Regions from separate parts of the Homo sapiens genome. Here region 1 is linked to region 2. The links are contacts of gene promoters, found by promoter capture Hi-C in blood cells and fetal thymus (Javierre and others, 2016). All regions are on one chromosome and are shown on one strand. Each heading gives the region's core, a stretch centred on a gene start or on the middle of the fragment in contact. The rest is flanking DNA. Distances are from core to core; before and after follow the strand shown. Region 1 overlaps STXBP4 (syntaxin binding protein 4). Region 2 holds the start of HLF (HLF transcription factor, PAR bZIP family member).

Region 1 (7,243 bases), core at 2,240-4,739, 110 kb after region 2:
AGAATTGTATTACAAGCCATACAGGTGTTCACTTAATTTAATCAACAAAAGAAGTTTAATAAACATCTGACTAAACATTCTTCTTAATTAACAAATTTAAAACCTTAAAAAACTAAAATTTAAAACATATTTTTCAACTAATTTATATGATTCTAATGTTATGTTTATCTATCAGAGTTAAAATGACTACACTACAAATTTTAAATATAAGCATATATATTATACTACAGAATGATTTGTAAAAATCACAAAGTTGGAAGGGACTTTGAGAGGCTCCTTATGAGACCATCTCTAATGTCTTGAAGTATTTTGTCAGTATTATTGATTCCGTCATGTATAAATGCTAAAGCCACTTGACAGTGAGTGTTACAAAGAAAAGCCTTCAATTATGGTGAAAATTATGGGATAAAAACATGCCATCAACCTCTACAGTTTTCTCATGAACTTTTAAATACTGATTGTTTCTAATAGTGCCAACTTAGACTTGTGACTAAATGGAATTAACTGTCTTTTAGGACCTTAGTATAAATTAAAGGCAAGAAAGAATTATATTCTTATTTTCTGTATGAGGAACCTGATACTAAGAAAGGTGAAATAACTTATTCCAGGTCATGAAACTAGTGCATGTTAGAGCCGGGATCTAGACCCAAATCTGACTTCTGAGAATTTAACCATTATATTAAACTCCTCGCTGAGGCTCTGTTATCTGGGTTGGTGTCAGTAACAATATATAGGGAGGCTCTGGAATGGATTAAGTGACCATCTGAAAGGGGTTCTTCAGCTTTACAAGATAAAATTAATTAAAGATGTATTGACTAGTTCATTGATTATAAATGATATGTCTAAAGCTATTATATATATATTTTAAAGTATTTGCCATATGATATGGTTTGGCTCTGTGTACCCACCCAAATCTCATCTTGAATTGTAATCTCCATGTGTCAAGGGAGGGACCTGTAATCCCCAGTATCAAGGGAGGGAGGTGATTGGATGATGGGGACAGTTTCTTTCATGCTGTTCTTGTGATACTGAGTTCTTACAAGATCAGATGGTTTAATAAGCGTCTGGCATTTCCTCTGGTTGCACTTCTCACTCCTGCTGCCTTGTGAAGAAGGTGCCTGCTTCCCCTTCTGCCATGATTGTAAGTTGCGGGAGGCCTCCCCAGCCACGTGGAACTGTGAGTCAGTTAAAGCTCCTTTGTTTATAAATTACCCAGTCTCAGGTGATATCTTTATAGCAGTGTGAAAACAAACTAACATACCACGAAATGCATAAGAATTGTTATCTGGATGACCATGAATAAAAAGTACTTGTATGAAGCCTGAGTCAGAGGCTTTGTGCCAGCAGTCATATTTTTTACATCATGTAGCAACAAATTCTTCATATATCTATTTTTGTCTAATAGGCTGTTAGTTTCTGGAGGGTAGGGAAGTGTCCTACTCATCTTTATAGCCCCAGTGTCAGGCTCACAGAAAGGGGGGTCCATAAATATTTGATGCATGGATACATTTCACTGATACATTACTATTGTCATATCACTGGGTAAAAATACTCAAAAGTGGTAGACAAGCTTACTTATAATGGAGGATCAGACAAAACAATCTTCCGACTTGGTAATCCAGTGTACTGTCCTAAATTATTGAAAATATGCATAAATAAATTGATCATTATTAAAATAAGATTTAAATAGCTCCAAAGTCACCAAATAACTAACACTACTAGTCCTTCTCACCAATATTCTCATATCCAAGTAACTTCCAAAGGTCTACTCATACATTTGGTTGTATGTAACAGTTGAATCACTGTGATAATTCAGACCATTTTGACTAGTTTATTTTCTATACAGCTGGAGTTATATGTCAACCTACTCAAATCCCAGGTTTTGTTAAAATTATTTACATCAAGCAAATACTATTTTTAGCTAAGCAAATCTTGTTTTAACTATTAGAGTATAAAACTTTACTAAAGACAAATAAATATGATGGTAAGTGGCCTGGCTAACAGCTCACGCTTCCCTTCGGTCCCTAAACCGTAGAAGTGATTTTACCACACTGGAATTTTTAGTCTTTGAAATGATGAGAATGCAGCCAAAGCCATGTTTCTAGGCACCAGATACCCAACAGAGGGATGGAGATTTTCACAGAGGTACCTGCTTAATACCAGTGCTAAGTAACAAAGTGCAGGCATGATCAAAGAAGACCTCTGGCCCTGTTAATATTGAGATCATTCATTTGATACAGATGTTCAGGTATGTGGCAGCTGGGTAAGACTTTACATCAGGAAAGCATTTTGTACTTTACAACATTCTTTGATACCAATTTCCCAATTTGCTTTTCATATAAATCTCACAGACCTTATTTTTCTCTACAGTTTTTACAATTGATGAAACTGAGGCTCAGAGTATCAAAGCCCCATCCAAGGTCACACAGTAGTGGGACCACTACCCTCCCCACTCTACTTCTAACTCCCTGTAATCATTTGCTACTGCAGTAACAAATTTCCACAAATTTAATGGCCTAAAACAACACAAATTTACTATCTTATAGTTGTGTAATTCAGAAGTCCCACACAGGTCTTATTGTTCTGGAGGCTCTAGAGGAGAATTTGTTTCTTTGCTTTTCCAGGCCACTCACATTCCTTGGCTTATGGCTCCCAAATTCAAAGCCAGCAACATAACATATCCTAAATTCTGCTTCCACTGTCATATCTCTTTCTGACTCTCTTTTTCTGCCTCCCTCTTCTACTGTTAAGGAGTCACGTGATTGGACCCATTTGGATAATCCAGAATTAGCTCCCTATTTTAAGGTTAGTTGATTAGCAACCTTAATTCTACCTGCAACTTTAATGCTCCTTTACCATGTGACCTAGTATATTCACACTTACAGGTGCTGGGGAATAAGATGTGAACATTTTTGAGGGCCATTATTCTGCCTACCCTTCTCTTCTTCCCTTAAGCTGCTTCTTCCCCTAAGACTAGGGCCTAATGGAAAATGCACCGATTGGGATCAACTCTTGCAATTTGCCTAAAACTTGCTAAACGTTTAGCATGAAAAATAATACATATATGTATGACACTATAATGAATATAATCTACAGAATGAAGAAAAAAGTTGCTAGGGACCTTATGAAATGTAATTTTTGGGAGAAGCTACTATATGGACTGAACTATGTCCCTCCTAAATTCATATGTTGAATCTCCAAACCCCAGCGTGGCTGTATTTGGAGACTGGATCTCCATGGAGATAATTAGGGTTAGATGAGGTTGTAGGGTTGGCAGGACACTGGTCTGATGGAACTGGTGTCTTTGTAAGAAGAGACACCAGAGATATCTCTCTCTCTGTGTACAAAGAGAAGAGGCCAGATGAGGACACAGCCAGAGGTAGGCATCTAGAAGCCAGGAAGAGAGTCTCACCAGAAACCAACCCTGATGGCGCCCTGATCTTGGGACTTCTGTGAGAAAATAAATTTCTGTTGTTTAAGCCATGTCTGTGGTGGTTTGTTACGGCAGCCCTAGCAGACTAATACAGCAACCAAATTTGGAAGGGAAAGAGTTTGACAAAAAGTATTTGTTAGTAAATCTAAATAAAGGGTCCTGGCAGCAAAGACAATTATACACCTTTCAAATAGAAGTATTAACCCTCAGAAAGGTTACGAGTTTTCAAAGTACTTTATGAAACCCCAAATAATTTATTTTAATATCTCAATGAAATGTGAAAAAACATGCCTCATGCCTGTGTTATACCTGTCATTGGTTAAATGAGGGGGAAAAGGGGCTTTGATGCTGAATATTTAGGTCTGGATGTTCTTTTTATTTTAGTGGGCTTTGCCATTCTGAATAACCCAAGCCAGCTGCCTGGTCTTTCATTTCATGACAATTTCTCACACAGTACTTCATATTCCTACATATCTTTGTAGGTATTTACAGAAAATCCTGAGCAAGCTGTCTCAGGCTCATGATCAATGCAATGTCTCTGCTCCTATCACAGGGCTTTTGACTGGCCAGAGAGTGGCACAGGTGTAGGTTTTGGCTACTGGTTTCCATCTGCAGTTGTGTAAATACTGTCATTTTAAACTCCTCCATTGGCAAATAGCAATAGTATAAAATAAGGAAGGGGAGGGGTAACTAACAGCTGTTAAGCACTCATTATGTGCAAGGTATTTTGCTAGGTGCTTTTTACCCCAAATTTCATTCAATTCTCAAAACAATCTGGGGAGATAGATAGAAATTATTATCCTTGTTTTTGTACAAGAATAGAGGGTAGAGAGTATTGAAATAACTTACCACTACCAAGGTCACACTTAAAAGTGGTTGCATAAACATTAGAAGCTAGCTCTGTCTGATACTAAAGCCCTTATTTTTTTCCCCATCAATTGCTTCCGCAGACTGCCAACAACAATATTCATTCGATAAATATTTATCATCCCTACAAATACCAGGCCCTGTGCTAGGTAATGAATATTCCAAACCAGTTGTCACATGGATGGTTACAGCTTTAAAGTGCAATCTAGTAATTTCAATACCTTACAACTCATTCATAGCTAAGAAGTATTTGGGGGCAAAATATTTAAAAAGGTCCATATTTCATCTTTTAAGTCCTCTGTTGGTTTCTTCATTGTAGCCTCATTAAGAATAAAATGCCCAGAATTCTTATACATGTAAAAGAGAGTGAGGAGCCTACACATATTCTCCTTATCTAGTCTGAAGTTGCATAGAAATTGCCCTGACACCTCATCCAGTGAGCCTTAGATCTTACTAATTTGTCAGTAGACATTTCCTCATTCACAGAAAATGAATCAAAGCCCCCAAATTAATGAGATCTTTAGAAGGAGGGTGTTAGACAGTGTCCACTAAAAGCCAAAATAAGCTAGGTGCTTGCTCACGCCTGTAATCCCAGCACTTTGGGAGGCTGAGGCGGGCAGATCACCTGAGGTCAGGATTTCAAGACCAGTCTAGCCAACATGGCCCCGCCTCTACTAAAAATACAAAAATTAGCCAGGTGTGATGGCTGGTGCCTGTAATCCCAGCTACTCGGGAAGCTGAGGTGGCAGAATCACTTGAACCTGGGAGGTGGAGGTTGCACTGAGCCGAGACTGTGTCACTGCACTCCAGCCTGGGTGACAGAGCGAGACTTCGTCTCAAAAAAAAGAAAAAAAAAAAAAGCTAAAATAATTGTAAAGGATTTAGAAAAAGCTAAAAGTAGTACCCTTTAAATTTCTAATTCAGAAACCATTCCTTCCTTTCCATCTTCCCCTTTCCAATCTCCCTAATTTCTAATTGCATTAGATTTACCTAAGCTAGGCTCTACTTAGCAAATAAAGTTAGGGCCTAAGAAACGATAATTTAAAATTCTTGTCTTTTGTGTTTTCCTTTGTTTATAAATGAGATGACACAATGTAACTGAAGCTTTTAACTAATACAATAGGCAAACAATAAAATTTATTCACTTATAGATTATGAGCCATTCTTCCCTACTTGCAAACAAACTAACTGGCTGTCTTAACCCAAGTATAGACAATCATTTTAGGGCATTAATGAATTCTGACTGGAGAGAAATGAGAGAAACCATGCGTATTAGAACTTAGTTATGCTGTAGAGTCATAAAAACAAAGCTCTCACATACTGAACATCTTGTAAGAAATTTGGGGTAGGGGTGTTCTCATTGTTTATTTTGTTATTCCAACCTAATAGTTGCATCATTACTGTTCATCATGGCAGAGTTCCTGTCATGTGCTAGCAATACACTCTAGAAGAAAAAGATTGCAAAGATGTGGCATGTGTCCTACACACCACTTCTCCCTCTAAACCCATGGCAGACATCTCCAGTTGATCAAGGCATACATCAGTGAAGTTGAATATGTCCTCAGAATTCTTCTCAAAATAATACTTGAGACAGCTATTATCAACAGACAGAGATGGCATGAGTTAAAATCTATTTCCCTTCCCTGTTCTACACAGAAACTTTTGTTTTATTCAAATACATAGACTTTCTAGGTTCTACTGATACGCATTTGTAATGTTCTAAGAATAATACTGCCTATGTGATAAAGAATAGAATTTGTAATACGAGGAACAATATATCAGATTTTAGGATCTGATATAAAGGCATATCAATCCAAATGAATGCATGGAGAATTACAAGCCAAATTTAAGTAACTTAAAAGCAAGTGATTACATGTATTTGAAAAATCACCAACAGTATAATTCAGGGGTCCTCAACCCCCGGGCCATGGACTCGTAGTGGTACATGACCTGTTAGGAGCTCAGCTGCACAGCAGGAGGTGAGTTCCGGGCAAGCGAGTACTACTGCCTGAGCTCTGCCTCTTGTCAGATCAGTGGTGGCATTAGGATTGCAAACCCCATTGTGAACTGCACATGCAAAGGATTGAGGTTGCGTGCTCCTTATGAGAATCTAATGCCTGATGACTGAGGTAGAACAGTTTCATCCTGAAACCGTCCCCCTACCCCCTGGTCCATGAAAAAATTATCTTCTACAAAATGGGTTCCTCGTGCCAAAAAGGTTGGGAACTGCTGGTATAATTGAATATTCAAAGCAAGTAATGGACAGAGACAATTTTGTATTATTTATATAAGTCATATGAAACATATATTTTACATACACTGTGAAGTGGCATCTGCTAGGCATGCTCTAAGATGGTTCCCAATGATCCCTACCTTCTGGAATTCATACTTTTAGGTAGGCGCCTCTTACACTGAACCAGGGTTGGTCACATAGCAGAAGTGATGGTAGATCAGTCATCTGACATTGGTTATAAAAGACACTGTAGCTTTTGTCTTTCTCCCTCTCTGTCCTTTTTGTCCCTTACTTCAAGGAAGACAGCTGCCATATTGTGAGTAGCTCTATGTGTTCATGATATGGTGAGGAAGTGAAGCCTCCTGCCAATAACCTCATGAGTGAGCTTGGACCAAATACTCCAGCCAGCTCACTAAGCCACTCTTTTTTTTTTTTCTTTTTTTTTGAGACGGAGTCTCGCTCTGTGGCCCAGGCTGGAGTGCAATGGTGTGATCTTGGCTCACTGCAAACTCCGCCTCCCGGGTACACAACATTCTCCTGCCTCAGCCTCCAGAGTAGCTGGGACTACAGGCACCAGCCACCATGCCTGGCTAATGTTTTTTTGTATTTTTTTTAGTAGAGACAGGGTTTCACCGTGTTAGCCAGGATGGTCTCAATCTCCTGACCTCGTGATCCGCCTGCCTTGGCCTCCCAAAGTGCTGGGATTACAG
Region 2 (6,597 bases), core at 1,071-3,570:
GGTAAAGCAGGGACCTTCCACCCTTCTTTAACATCATGTTTAGAGTACCTACTGGATACCTGGTTCTTTCCATATATTATCTCAAAAATCTCACAATAAACTTGCAAAATAACAATTACCTCCATTTACAACAAAGACTCGGAGGCTCTGAGACTTGAGGGAACTTGACCAATGCCTCATGTTGGCAGAGAATGAGAACTTTCTGAGCTCACATGTGTTTGCTTCTAAAGCCACTGGGGCACACTGATTTTTACAAAAGGAGTTTAAAAAAATACAAAGTGTTTTCTTCCTTCTCTTCTCCAAACATTTGAGTATGATCCAATTTACAAAGAGTATGCATTTACAAAACCTTTCAAAAGCAGAGCTATTGGAAAAGGTGAGTTATTCTATACATTTATGTTGGAAGTATGCAGCTATTTGCTACCTGGAAGTACTGCTCGCCCATTAGGTCTTTAACAAGCATTCCGGATCTTGCCAATTCTAGTATTCAGTCGTGGGTGGAATCTGGGATTAAGGAATTTGCTTCTGAGTTTCATCTTCAGAGAAACACAGCCTCCACTGCCATCCATTCTAACCCTCTACCATCTCATCTGAAAATCTGACTTAAAACACCCACAGATGCAAAAGCCTGCAGGCAGCCCCTTCCTCCCAAATGCTCTTCCTTAAAGGATAGTTAGGGAGGGGTCCCTGGCTATCATCTGCAGATTGCAAACTCTTGCAATGCAACAGGTTGTCCTCTCCTAGAAAAGAAGGTGCAAGTACTCCCAAGCTATTTGTAGCCAAATAACCTTTCAGAACTTTACACTGTGAGCCGCACGGTTCGCATTTGCTACTGTGATACCGAAGGCATGAAATCGCATCAACCCAAATCCGTGGCATCACTTAGCCGGGTTTGGGGCCTCATCACACGTACCCCTCCTCTACTGCTAAGGCCAAGGTTGTCTTGGGAAGGTTTGGGACTTACCAAGAAAGGGCTCAAGCCAGAGGAGGCTCCTGCGCGGTTACACGTGAGCCTGCTCCGCTCTCCCCTCCCACCAGAAAAAGTGCACCGGGAAAGTGTCAACGCTGGAGGCGTGCACGGCTTCCCGCCGAGAGACCACTCCCCCCACCGGCCCCAGCCCCCACCCCGCTTTCTCAGCTACCCTTCACCAGAAGAAAACGAGTCTTCTCTCACACCTCGTGAGTTCCAAATACTAACCAGTAACAGAAGCTGTAACACAACCCCAAAACCCAGGCTACGCAGTGAAACCCCCTCCCTCAAGCCGACCCCCGCCCCCTGCCCCGCACAGAACCAGGCCCCAGGGTTTCTCCTCCCCAGCCCGGGAGGCTCTGCCCTCCGCAGGCGGGCTCGCTCTGCGTGCGGGTGTGCCTCGTTCTAGGGAACGATCCTGACCTGTCAAGTTACACCTCCCACCCGCGCCGCAGGAGCGGGACCCAGGGAGGCCGGGTGCCCGAAGCTCTTTTAAATGTAGCTCAGGAGGGGTCCCTCCCCTTTCATGGAGGAGGAGGAAGGGGAGGAAGGGTGCTGGGTGAGCTCCTCAATTTCATCAGCGCGGGGCCGGGGCGCCGCGGGACAGGGCGGGAGCGGGGTTGGGGGATGCTCCAGCGGGCGTGCCCGGCCGCGGAGGGGGACCCCCGGAGCGTCGTCCCTTCCCGGAGCGGGGCCGCGGCAGCGCTCACCGTCTTCGTGGTGAAGGGGGAGCTTCAGCGGGTTCTCCAGCAGGGACCTGAGCACGCCGTAGGGAGGCGGGATAAAGGTGGGATTCAGGGGGAGCGGTCGGGACATTTTCTCCATCGCGATGCACTCAAATTTTTTCCCCTTAAAAAAAGAAATAAGAAAGAAACAACCGCCCCCTAAAATGTTGCTGAGCTTTTCCTCCGTCCTTTGCCAAAAGTACTCGCTCTCAAGGCGGTGGAGAAAAGGGAAGAAAAAAATTACTTATATCTTTATAAATACATCTGCATAAAAATATATATTAAAAAAAAACTTTCGGGTTTCCAGTGCAGACGGTCCCAGGAGAGCGCGCCAAGTGCCCGCGGGCTCCCCGGCGACGTGCAGGATGCTCTCACCTGCCTCGAACCCCTCGTTTTGCAAAATGTTCAAAATTGAAAAAAAGAAAGAAAAAAAAATGTCGACGGCTGCAGAAGGGCAGAAGACACCGCGCCGACCCCAGCCCCTAGTGCCAGCACCGGAGGCGGTGCGCCGTCCCACCCCACCCCCCTCCCCGCGCCGGCGGCCGCTGCTCCCCAGCGCTCCGCGGCCCCGCAGCGCCGGGCTCAGCGCATCCGGCCGCCCATGTGCCGCGGCCCTGACAAGAGTGACGTCAGGGCCCGCACCTCGCGCCCATAGGCGTGCGGGGGCGGGGCCACGCGCGGCACCGCCCGCCTGGCCCGCTCGCCCCGCCGCCGCGTGTTTAGCGTCGCCGCTCGCGCCGATTTTCGGGGACCTTGCAGCACTGGCTGGTTGCAGGGGAGCAGGTGCCAGATTCCCTGGGCCATCAACTTAGGCTTAGATTTTTTTTTTTTTTTTTGGTCTGGGTGGGAAGAGGAATGAGAAATTTATATCCATAGTTTTCAAGCTGGGAATAACCTGAGGAGTTTTAAAAAAATCGCGATACCCAGGCCGCATCCCAGATCAATTAGATCAGAACCTCTGCGGTGCTATCAGGGCGTCCATAATTTTTAAAGCTCCCCAGGTGGTTCCAAAGAGTAGCCAAGTTTGAGATGATTGGTTTAGATCGGATGGAAGGTAACGACCCTTCTCAATATTTCTCCTGGCCCCGGCCAAGCTTAGCGTCTTCTTTCTTGCCCAGTTTCCACCACCACCAAAAAATAACTACTTCCTATAAGTCCGAATGGGATGCAAAAAGCAGAGCGGGAAGCGGAGGACTGAGCTGCTGGGCACTGTTTCCCACGCTGCAGAGAGGTGTTAACGGTGGGGGGAGAGGGGGGGTAGACATTTGCCTGAAACGGAAAGAGGCGGGAGAGACACAGACACACTGAACGGGATTTTAGGAATATTTACTCTGGGTGAATACAGGTGATTGCGCTTGGGTCAAGTTATTAGGTTTGCACGGTGATTAAAATAATTTTGTAAAGTATCCCCTAAGGGGGCTTCGGCTTTCCTTGCTGTTACAGCAGCTGCAGCGTCTCCCTCTGCCAGTTTGACCTCGTGGCACCCACGGTCCCCGAGATCTGCGTGCGACCCCCTGTGTGATAACTCCCTTCCCGCCTGGGGTGGTGCGGGCGCTGGCGTGCAGCCGCGACGCCCCCTGCAGAGCTCCGCGGGGGGCCAGGCAGGTTCTTCCCCTCCCTCCTTACCTCTCCTTACTAAGACCCTAGTCTTCGATCTGGGGAAGGGGCTGCAAGAACGAATGGGCACAAATGAAAGAAAACCGTTTTTCAGTGGGACGTAAAGGCCTTTGTGACCCCAGGCTGAGTCGCTGGGGAAGGATGTGGTGGTGTCTTGATGGGGTTTACTTCCCCAGGAGAGGGTTGTAAGAGAGGAGGCGCCTGAAACCCCAGAGATCAGGAGCGGCGGCGCAGCGGGGTTCAGAGTTCCCTGGCAGGGTGATTCCGGCAAGTGCCTTTCTGCCCTGAGCTGTAGGTTCTTCATAAAAGGACACGTAATCTAGTGACCTCTACTTCCTCACTCTAAAATTATGGCAAAAGGGTAAGGCAACATTCTAAGTGAGATGTTGTTGCAGTGTTTCAGGTTTCAGACGAATTCCAGAAACAGCAAACTTTTAGTTAATGCCACATGCATTTATTGAGCACCACGGTATGTATGCCAGCGACTATGCGGGGGCTAGTGAAAAAAGATGAATAAAACATAATTTTAACCTTCAAGAACTCATCGTTTAGGGTTTGGCATATAAGCAAATAATATAAAATAGGCTTAAAAGAACAAAAATGGATAGATGGAGGTGACAGGGGCACTTACATTATTAGGAAAGGGATTCTAGAGAAGGTGCCTGAGCTGGGCGTGGAGGTAATAGTCTCTCGTGAACGGTCTGAATCCATCAATTATATTATATTGTTTTTTTAAAAAATAAAAAAGGGACCTCATCTCCGCTATCCTTTTGGAGACAGAGGCTATTTCCCTGTCTTGAGTTCCTTACATCCCTGTAAGTCCATAAACTGGCAGGACTGAGAGCATCCTCTCAGCCTGGTTAGAAATCTGTTAGATTGCAGATTCCAGGTGCATGAAAGATGCGTTACCTAAGCTTTGTGTAACAGTCCACTGACATTACTCAGCACGCCCAAAGTGCTCCACCTGCTCATGATTCTCCGCATGTCCTCACTTCCCCATGTTTCCAGACATGAAACTCTTACCAGGTCAAGTAATCTGGTTTCCCAGGGTAATCTTCTCCTTACCACCTGACAGAACCAAATACTGTGGCTTGGAAATTGCATTTCTCATTGCAAGTGGATAAACTGGCGTTCTGGTTGATCAAGCAGTTTCTTGGGAATTTGGTTCATTTAATTTAATTTCCCTGAGCCTGATCAACATGTCACGGACCAGATTGAGGACCAGCCCCTTAGACCATGGTGACTCCCTCTCACTTCTCTCCATCCTTCTCTAACTTCAAAGGTATTTCTTAGAGCCTCAAAAATTATAAGCATTGGCTAATCTTCAATCTAGCCCCATTCCTTAACAAGATAAATGAAATTGGTACATCTTTTCTACTCTGGCCATTTGTAAATGTTATTTTCTTTTATTTTTTTAACAAACCATGAACATCTTTCTTTCTCTTTCTCTCTCTCTCTTCCCCAGAAGCAGTTGTGGATGGCTGCTCAAGAGGAAGGAGAGGGATAGAAGAAACCAAAGGTTATATTGGTTGGGTAGTAAGACCCTCTGAATTCCACAGGTTAATTCTCAAATGGACATATCCCTAATGAGCACTAACCCCAATCTGCACATATGCCCAGAGATAACTGCCGCTCACAAGTGCTTAGCACTTGTCCACTTACAGAGCCCTTCCATATGTGTCATATCACATACTTCTGACAATTCCATGAGGAAAGCAATGATGCTGATTATTGATTGCTGTGTAACAGATCACTCCAAAACCTAGTGGCTTAAAACAACAATCATTTTATTATTTCTCATTATTCTGCAATCTAGGTTAGGCTCAGCTGGGATACTGGGCTGGCTGGCCTTCTCTTTCTCTTTACATGGCCTCCTTACACCATAGATTCATTTTGCTTGTTTTATAATTTCATACAAGTGAAATCATACTGTATATACTCTCTTGTGTGTAGCTTCTTTCACTCTGCACAGTATTTTAGACATTCACCAATGTTGCATATAGTTCATTTCTTTATATTAGTGAGTAGTATTCCGCTCTATGAATATACAAAAGTTTATCTGTTGTATTGGTGGACATTTGGGTTGTTTCCAGTTTTTAGGCATGAATAAAATGTTTATGAGAATTCTTGTCTGAGTTCTTTTGTGAACACATGCTTTCCTTTCTCTTGGATAAACAAATAGGAGTAGGATTACTGGATCATAGAAAAGATGTGTGTTTTACTTTAGAAGAAGCTCTTCTATAGTCTTCTGAAGCAGGTAAATTGTCCTGCATTTCCAGCAGCAGTATATGAGAGTTCTGGTTGTTCTAGCGCCTCACCAATATTTAGTGGTGTCAGTTTCTCTTAAAACTTGTAGCCATTCTAGTGGGTGGATAGTCAGTTCTCAATGGACCTTTCATCTGAATTTTCCTGATGAAAAATGATGGCATGTGCTACTTCATGTGCTTCTTAGTAGCTTGTACATCTTCCTGTTCAAGTCTCTTGCCCATTTTTGAATTTGGTTATCTTTTGATTACTGAATTTTAGGAGTTCTTTTATATACTTTGGATAGTCTCTTTGTCAGATGTTTGTGTGTTGTGAATATTTTCTTCCAATCTGTGGCTTGCTGATTAGTTTTTATAATAACGTCTTTCCATGAGCAGTTTTTAATTTTGACAAAGTTCAATTTATCAATTTGTTTTTCATGATTATTGCTTGCTATGAACTAGGAAACTTTTGACTACTCCTGAGTTCTGGAGATATTCTCCTATACTTTCCTTTATAACTTTCATAGTTTAAGCTTTTTCATTTAGCCTTATGACCCATTTCAAATTAATTTTTGTGTATACTATGAGGTAAGGATTAAGGTTGGTTTTACTCATGGGGATATCCAATTGTTTTAGACTTTCATTTCCCCCTTGAATTGTTTGTTGTTGTTGTTTGTTTTGTTTTGTTTTGAGATGGAGTCTCGCTCTTGTTGCCCAGACTGGAGTGCAATGGCGTGATCTCAGCTCACCGCAACCTCCGCCTCCTAGGTTCAAGCAATTCTCCTGCCTCAGCCTCCTGAGTAGCTGGGATTACAGGCACCAGCCGCCACATCCGGCAATTTTTATTAGTATTTTTAGTAGCGATGGGGTATTAGTATTTAGTATTAATATTTTTAGTAGCGACGGGGTTCTCCATGTTGGCCAGGCTGGTCTCGAACTCCCGACCTCAGGTGATCCGTGGACCTTGGCTTCCCAGAGTGCTGGGATTACAGGCGTGAGCCACCGCGCCCGGCCCCCCCTTGAATTCTTTTGATGTTAT

What was found. Contacts are between HindIII fragments. The CHiCAGO score rates a contact against its expected background, and 5 or more counts as called.
Region 1: a fragment that was not itself captured here is called in contact with the fragment with the promoter of HLF in region 2 in 1 of 17 cell types (total CD4 T cells); the score reaches 5.2 in total CD4 T cells.

The regions. Positions count from the first base shown.
Region 1 is chr17:55,146,452-55,153,694 of GRCh38, reverse strand. All of the region lies in intron 17 of STXBP4 (syntaxin binding protein 4), which reads right to left. Among named protein-coding and RNA genes, the nearest start is that of HLF, 110 kb to the left of the region's middle. The HindIII fragment of the contact is 3,834 bases long and covers 1,573-5,406 here.
Region 2 is chr17:55,260,683-55,267,279 of GRCh38, reverse strand. It overlaps HLF (HLF transcription factor, PAR bZIP family member), which reads right to left and starts at 2,320. Exons shown (of 4, transcript NM_002126.5): 1 at 1,681-2,320. The coding sequence starts at 1,795. RefSeq lists a silencer at 2,197-2,516. The HindIII fragment of the contact is 7,530 bases long and covers 1-2,791 here.